Regions from separate parts of the Homo sapiens genome. Here region 1 is linked to region 2. Evidence: promoter capture Hi-C in 16 types of primary human blood cells and fetal thymus (Javierre and others, 2016). All regions are on one chromosome and are shown on one strand. The core of a region is centred on a gene start or on the middle of the fragment in contact, and the rest is flanking DNA. Distances in the headings are between cores, read along the strand shown. Region 1 overlaps LOC105371470 (a long non-coding RNA gene). Region 2 holds the start of NECTIN4 (nectin cell adhesion molecule 4).

The links. The method cuts DNA at HindIII sites, captures the fragments that hold promoters and counts their contacts. A CHiCAGO score of 5 or more calls a contact.
Region 1: a fragment that was not itself captured here is called in contact with the fragment with the promoter of NECTIN4 in region 2 in 2 of 17 cell types (erythroblasts and activated CD4 T cells); the score reaches 5.4 in erythroblasts.

What each region holds. Positions count from the first base shown.
Region 1 is chr1:160,776,666-160,780,604 of GRCh38, forward strand. All of the region lies in intron 1 of LOC105371470 (a long non-coding RNA gene), which reads right to left. Among named protein-coding and RNA genes, the nearest start is that of LY9, 18 kb to the right of the region's middle. RefSeq lists enhancers at 748-797, 1,118-1,187. The HindIII fragment of the contact is 4,063 bases long and covers 1-3,629 here.
Region 2 is chr1:161,087,270-161,090,968 of GRCh38, forward strand. NECTIN4 (nectin cell adhesion molecule 4) reads right to left here and starts at 2,289. Exons shown (of 9, transcript NM_030916.3): 1 at 1,949-2,289. The coding sequence starts at 2,027. NECTIN4-AS1 (NECTIN4 antisense RNA 1) reads left to right here. Exons shown (of 4, transcript NR_183641.1): 4 at 1-3,463. The HindIII fragment of the contact is 2,777 bases long and covers 917-3,693 here.

The DNA.
Region 1 (3,939 bases), core at 348-2,847, 310 kb before region 2:
AACCCACAACCTCAGTGTCAGTGTCTCCCCACCTAGTCAGGAAAGCCACAGGCTCCATCCAGCTCCTCCTGTGTGAGTCCCTCCAGCCTCCCCACCAGCTCCAGTGGGTCTTCTCCTCCCACTGCCATGACCACACAGACCAACACCCACCCACCCCAGACTCCCACCCTCCCAATGGTGTTAGCCCCCTTGCCCCAGGGTCTGAAGGGAACCAGGACTTCTTCTTCCACCCTCCCTGTCAACCCCAGAGCTGCTCAGGCCCCTGGGCAGACTGAGGAGCCTGGTACATATGCAGAAGTGAGGCACTGAGATAGGGTGGGAGCTGCTGTTACTGAATGGGTTCTTGACCATGCAGGTAAAAGTTAGAGCACTGTCCCCAAGCCTCAAGGAGACACTGAGGACAGACCCTCCACAGGACACAACAACAGTCTGGGGTCCCAGGGGTGTCCAGCTGTAAGTCACACTGCCTCCTCTGCTCTCTGCCACACATGTCAATGGCATATGAGAGTGACAATGCAGCATCCATCCTCACTAATCCTGGAGCTCAGTGTGACATGAGGCCAGGCCAGCTGCTCTGTGTGTGCGAAAGGGAATAAACTGAGGACTGGGAAACTGCTCTGGGCCTCCACTTCACAGGACAGAAAATGCACGGCATTAGTGCCCAAACCTTGCATCACCTTGAATACACAGAAGGAACAGCAGAGGCAGGATCTGCCCACATCTGTTCCAGAACTTTGTGCTATGTAAGGCCATGTCACTTAACATCTCAGTTGATTTCCAGAACAACTCCATGAACTAAACAGGGAAGATGTTATATCAACTCCATTTCACAGGCTCAGAATGCTTAGATAACCTGCCCAAAGTCTCATCTAGTTAAGTGGTAAAGCCAAAATCCAAATCCAGTGAATTTGAGCCCAAAACTGAGTTTCCCAACCCTGCCCTGAATAGATAAAGGAATGCAAGTACGGAGCTGTGTTGTAATTACATATTTTCCCCGTAGGGGGCTCTGCAGCATACACTGAGCTTCCAGGTGTTGATCAAGAGTCCCAGAGGAGGTGGCTGTGTGCCTTTGAGGTTTCTCCCACTCCCTTGCACTCCCTTGGACCTGCTCCCCGTCTCCTCTTGCCCCAGGGCCATGACCCAGATATTCTTAAGTGCTCGAGGTGTCCACATTGCCATTATTTGTCCACCAGCCTCCCAGGCCAGACCCAGGAGGATTTGGGGGAGGCGAGAAGAGCAGCTGCAGACACCAGGCCTGAAACACTCAACAAAGTCATATTGCATAGAACAAGGCTACTCTGCTACTCAGCCTCAGCCCTGTGGCCCACACGACTGCAGCCCCAGGGGAAACTCAACTGTGCAAAGTAGGACCACACAGGCCCAGCGTGTCCCCCAGGAGAAGGCAGCCTGGACATCCCCACAGGTGGGTACCTTGCTGCTGGCTCTCCCCACTGTGTCTCCTATATATCAGGCCCTGGGATGCAAGCCACTTGACTTCTATTGGCCCTTTTCTCATCCAATAAATATGGCGACATACCAGAAACCCAGAGAATGAAGGCACAGGGTACAGCATCAGAATACCTGAGTTCGATTCCCAAATCTGCCACTTTCTAGCTCCATGTCATAGGTGTCTTATTTTCCCTTTCTAAGATTCCGTTTCCTTCCTAGAAATGAAAACTCCTGACCTGCATACTGGCAGGGCTGTTGTGAGGCTGCAGTGATGGGAAACACCCTGTGAAGGATGGAGCCTGACCATTAGCACTGCCTTGCCATTGGGATGTCAACCCAGAGAGAGAAGGGCTCTCTGGAAGACCCCACCCCTGATGGATTGGCACAACCCTATCCTCTACCCAGACTCCACCTGACACCATACCACACTAAGTAAGTGCTATCAGAATGACTATCAGCGAGGCCAAAGGGCCTCTCCCACCAGTTTTGGGCCCACCCTACCCTAGTGAGCAACCCAACCCCAAGTCCCAGCAACCCACTTCCATTGTGCCCTGGTCCTGTTGTGAGAAGCAGGCCATAGCCAGCCCAGGCCTGATTTATGGCAGACACGCCTTCTCCCCAGCCATGTGGACCTGACCAGAGAGCAGCCCCATCAACTCCACTAAAAGAGTGCCTTCGTCTAATAGGAAGATTTCCTATCACAGAATCCAAGAAAAATGTCTGTGAAGGTTCTCTGCTGGCCTTCCCATGTCCATCCTCACTCACCACCTGTCCCCCTCGCTCATTGCAGGGGAACGGCTCTGCCATAGCACCCTGAGACCTTGCACATCTCTCTCAGGCAAAGGTTTCAACCTCTGCTAAACTGGGTCTTGGCAAAATGCCTTGTGATCCACCCAGAACACGAGAGTTCAGGTGGCCTGTGAGGCACAGCCTTGAAGCCATCTCCCCTGGGAGGCTGTCATGAGACTATTTCCCCTGGCTCCTGGGGTTCTGATGCAGTATGGGACTTCTTGTCCTCAGAACACAGCTGCGGTCTCTAAGTCCTCTTTGCTGAAGGTAGAATTGGCCCCTCGGCATCTGGGTATTCCACAGCTCCCACTGCAGCCATCTGGCCCCTTTTGTTTCAATGTCATCTTTTCTGGTGTGGGACAAGTGCCCAGGGATCTGGAACCCTTGGCTACTCTTCCATTCGTTATATGAATAATCAACTGTCTGAATCTCAAAGTGGCTCAGCGTAGCATCTTTCATAGGCCTTTCTCGGTGCTGTGTGTGCTTGATACCCACCCCATTGCTTCCTTTGTAGTTTCTCCTGCTAAGATTTTTTAAATTTCTTTAAGGAATTTGATAAGAGCATCCCTCTGCATCTGCATAGGCCTTTCCAAAGCACTTTCATATGTTTTCACTCTCACAAAAAGGTATTGTTCCCATTTTAGTAATGAGGAAGCTCCAGGCCACAAGAGGAGGTTGTGGAAAAACTCAGTTCTCAGGGCCTGAAATCCCATTCTCTGACCACTACTGTCCCAAGAACTCTGCTTCAGGTGGTCTAGGGTAGGTCCTGAGGCTTGACATTTTTCAGGAGATTCTCTCTGGCAACTCTAACTTACATATCTTTAAAAACAAAAAACAAAACAGTGCGCATAAATTAGTCTTGCAAATTGCGAATGTTACTAAAGCTGTAGAAATGACTGAGAGGCTGACACTGCCTCACCCACTGCTGCCATCTCTAAGACACCCACTATAGACTTGCAGATGGTACTCCCAGGTGAGGGTGCTGCAGGAAATCCTCAGGTTAACATGGGCTCGGTAGGGCCCTGTATCCTCCCAGCTCAGGTTGCTGATCTACACGCAGGGATAAACCTGGACTCATGACACTCAAGCGACCCGAGGACCAGGTTTCCGCTTGGTAAAAGATGTCTGGGCCCCCAGCTTCTCCCATGGTTACTGTGGTGATCTCCATGGGGACCGAACGCGATATCCAGGAGATGGTCGCCACCTCCTGTCCAGAGCGATATCCAGGAGATGGTCGCCACCTCCTGTCCAGAGCGATATCCAGGAGATGGTCGCCACCTCCTGTCCAGAGCGTCTGCAGGGGCAGAATGACAGACCCTCCTAGGTCCCAGTGACCACTAGGGGTGCTGTGGTCCCTCTGGAAGTCCCTGGTCCTGCAGACACAGAACAGAAGCTTCAGGGGGTAGCCTGACTACGCCAGAAGGTCACAACAGGCCTGAGAGGGGATTATTATCCCCATTTTATAGACGGGAAAACAGTGACAAAGAATTTAGGTGACTTGCTCGAGACCACATCCCCATAAGGCTTTGTCCAGTCACTTCTGAAACAGATGTCACATCCTCTGAGGCCTAGCCAGGATTCCTGGGAACACATCTTTCTAGAGCAGGAGAACTTGTGGTGTGCTGGCCAAGCCAGTTTAAGGGTGCTCAGGGGGCAGCTGTTGGGATCCCAGCCTATACTTAAGAGGAGAGTGTAAGCACT
Region 2 (3,699 bases), core at 1,039-3,538:
TGCAGGTTGTAGCTGCTGCAGCAGCAGCAGAGTGGCCTCCTACCAGGTGCCAGCTTCCTGGGGCAATCTGGAGCCAGGCTTCCTCCCTTACTGCCAGGCATTGCATGAGGTCTAACTAGAAGGGGGTCTCCTGTCCCCTTCCCTGGGCTTCTCTTAGTAAGAACAGTTTTGCCATCATGGAAAAGAAAGGCAAGAACCATGTGATGCAGTCACCATTGCATCTCCAGCATCTAGTATCCAGGTTGTACCCAGTGTGCACTCAAATGTACTATTCTTCAATGAACTTAGAGTGAGAACACCAAGACACTAACCCTGGTTATGCTTCTAACACTGAGCAGAGGTAATCAGGGATTCCAGCCATAGTGACCGGGCCTGGGGGCTGGGAGGGAACATGAAAGGGAAGGGCTACACTGGCTCTTCTGGGGGTACTGCTGGAAGCTGGGGGTGGGAGAGAGAGATTGGCTCCTCAGTTCAGAGTCATAGGAAAGAGATGTTTGTGTGTGTGCGTGTGTGTCTACTCCTAACGTTGAGTAATCTTGCAGATCTCACTTGCCTATCTCTCTCAGTTTTTTCATCTGTAAAATGAGAGAGTTGGAGTGGTGATCTCTTTGATCTCTTCCAAGTCCTGAGATGGCATGACTCCACTCTTTAAGTGTGGGTAGATCCCACAGGAAAGTGACTGCTGGTTCCCCAACTCCAGCAACTAGGCTCCACCTTTTTGGCCTAAACAAGTGAGAAGGATTATCTGGAAGATGGGAATTAAAACACAGGTGGTAGGGGACTGTGAGGGGATGGCAGGGGTAGGAGCTCAGTATCCTACGACTGGAGGCTGGGCCCATGACCTATAATAAAATCAGAGTTGGAGCAGCCCATACCTCCACCAATCCACACATCTAGGCCTTATTTCCCTCCTCAAAGCTTTGGCTGGAGATGGAGGTAGGGGAATCACTGCCAGATCTTGCTGGGCAACAGAGGCTCCCTTGCTACTGCTCCTGGGCCTGAGAATCAAACTGTCCTGTCCAGATCAGGCCCTATCTTTTGAAGGAGAAATATTTCTGTTACTCATTACCCTAGGAACACCCTATGGAATCCCACTGAGGTCTCACTGTGCACACACACGCACACACACTCTCCTCTACTCTGAAGATTATACATTCCTATAATTCATATTTGCTCTATATGCATTAGACAGACAGGAGGTGAGAAGTAATACAAGGCATCTAGTTAAGAAAATGGGGGAACAGGAGATGAACAAATGGGGACCACACCCTATCTAGAAGGTTCCCTTCCTTAGACCCCCATCCATCTAAACCCCCTTATTACCACCCTGGCACCTAATATTGTGCCCAGGGAAAGGAAGGGGTCAGAGTGACGGGCATTCTCAGCTCTCCTATAGTCCCCAACAGGTGCCCCAGTCCTGGTGCTCTAGAACATCATGGAGAGAAAAGAAGGAAATAGAAATCCCCCATCCACTCTCTGGGCATCAGGCTTCCTGCACCCTGATGACTGCAGAAACCAGCTGAGCTCTGAGTCAGCCCCAGTTCCAGGCAGCCGTTCCAGAGCCCAGGGGGTAGGCCAAGGCACCTCTAGGAAACCCTGGGGTGAACAGGATCCTCACAAGTCCCACCTGCCTGCCCATCTACACTGGGTCACCACGTCTATTCCCCAAGACAGCTCAGGCCTAGGCAAGGCTTTGGCAGAGGTGTCAGGGATCCCAGACATAGTGACCTGGCCTGGGGGCTGGGAGGAAACAAGAAGGGGGAGGGCTATACTGGCTTTTCTGGGGGCACTGCTGGAAGCTGGGGGCAGGAGAGACTGGATCCTCAGTTCAGAGTCAAAGAAAGGAGGATATGTGTGTGCGTGCGTGTGTGTCTATGTGTTTGTGCATGTGTGTCAGTGCCAGGTTGGGCTCAGAAGCAAGTGTCCTGATGGTTCAGGCAAGTCCTACCTGTAAATGATGCCAGCAGTAGCAGCAGCAGCAGCCAGGCCTCAGGCCCCCACATCTCGGCTCCCAGGGACAGGGGCATGGTTGAAAGGCAGACTGCCCAGCGTTTCTGAAGTTCCACCGAGATCTCCCTGGGAGCCGGCTGCAGACTTGAATAAGGAACTGACCCAGAAGGCAGGAAGCTGCAGAGTTCTTGCCTCTCGCACTTGGGTCTCCACTAGGGGACCCAGCCCCAGCCCCGGCCCCGTTCTACACACCCAGCCGTAGCTACCCCCAAGAAGCCGTGATCGGGAGCTCCGAGCTCCCCCAGAGCTGCTTCCCACGCTGTGGCCAACAACGACGGCAGAAACCTGGGAACCTGCTCAGCAGGTCAGAACAGGTGCGTCTCTGGGGGCTGGGCCTGGCACGGAGACTCAGCAGCCACCGCCCCCATGGCCTGGGCTAGCTAATAGGCGCCAGGGAGGGAGGGAAGGAGGGAAGGACCTGGGTGGGGGCGGTGGGGTCCCATCCTCAGCTCCAGGCTTTACCTGCGAGTATGTGGAAGGGGCTATGAAGGGAGAGGCAAGGGTGGGGACTAAGGGAGGCCCAGGGCACCAGGCCAGGCCAGGATGAAAGGGGCAAGGCCCTTGTGGGTAGAAAGGAACCCAAGCGTCCCACACCCCAGCTAGCCTTGGTACCTCCTGGGGGCCTTGACAAGTTCCCGGATCTCCTGGAGGGTCTCAGCTTTGGAGCCACAGAATCGGAGAAGGCCAGAACTGAGGAGGAAGGAGTCTGTCAGTGCTGCGCTGTATACTTCATTCTTCAGAAGAGAAAACCAAGGCCCAGAGAAGGGGAGGGACTTGCCAGAGGACACACAACTTAGTCTCATGGTTTGCTCAGACACCTCTATCCCTGAAGTAGGGAAGTAGTTCAAAGACCCCTGAGAAAGAACTTACGTAACTCCTCTAACTCCACCTCCATATATAAGAGGCCAAGGAAGTGGCCAAGGAATTAGCCGTAGGGGTTCCTGGTTTCCCTATCAGGGCCCTCTCTCAGCTTCAACACCTTGTTACCTGGCCAGGAGTCCCAAAAGCGCAGCAGCACAACTTGAATGGAGAGAGGTTCCTCTCTACCCTCTCCATGGCCATTTTACCCAGTTTACTCCAAGGTCATTGGACAAGACCACATGTCTGGACTTTGCAAGGAGAATCTTAATTTCAAGTACTCTAGCCCTGTATTCCTATAAGTACATCCTTGTCAGACCATGTGTTTCCATTCTGAATGCATAAAAAGTGACCGCCAAATTACACAAAACCTTCCTGGCCTCCCTGGGATAGCCAGAGGAAGAGGGCATATTCTGAGCCCACTGAAAATTTAGTGAACGGGAGGGACAACATCACTTGCAGTCTAGGGCTAATACAAAAACCAGGTAAATACAGAGATAGACGTGGGAGAAGAAAAAAATATAGGTTAAAGTTTTGCCATAGGACCCTTCCATCTGGAGAAGGCAGAAAGGAGGAATAAAGAAGCCATAAGGAAGAGTTGTTCTGTGTAGATTTTCTACCACCACCATCCCCACCAACTCTACCTGTCAAACTCTTATTCATCTTTCAAAGCTGACCTCAAATGCCACATCTTCGTGAAGCCTTCTCTGCTCCTCCCACCCCAAATTAATCTTTCTTCTATTCTTCCTCAGCCTTTGCTAGTCCTTTTATTATAGCTTATGTGCTCATAATTTGTGCACATCTTATCTCCTTAACTAAATTGTAAGCTTC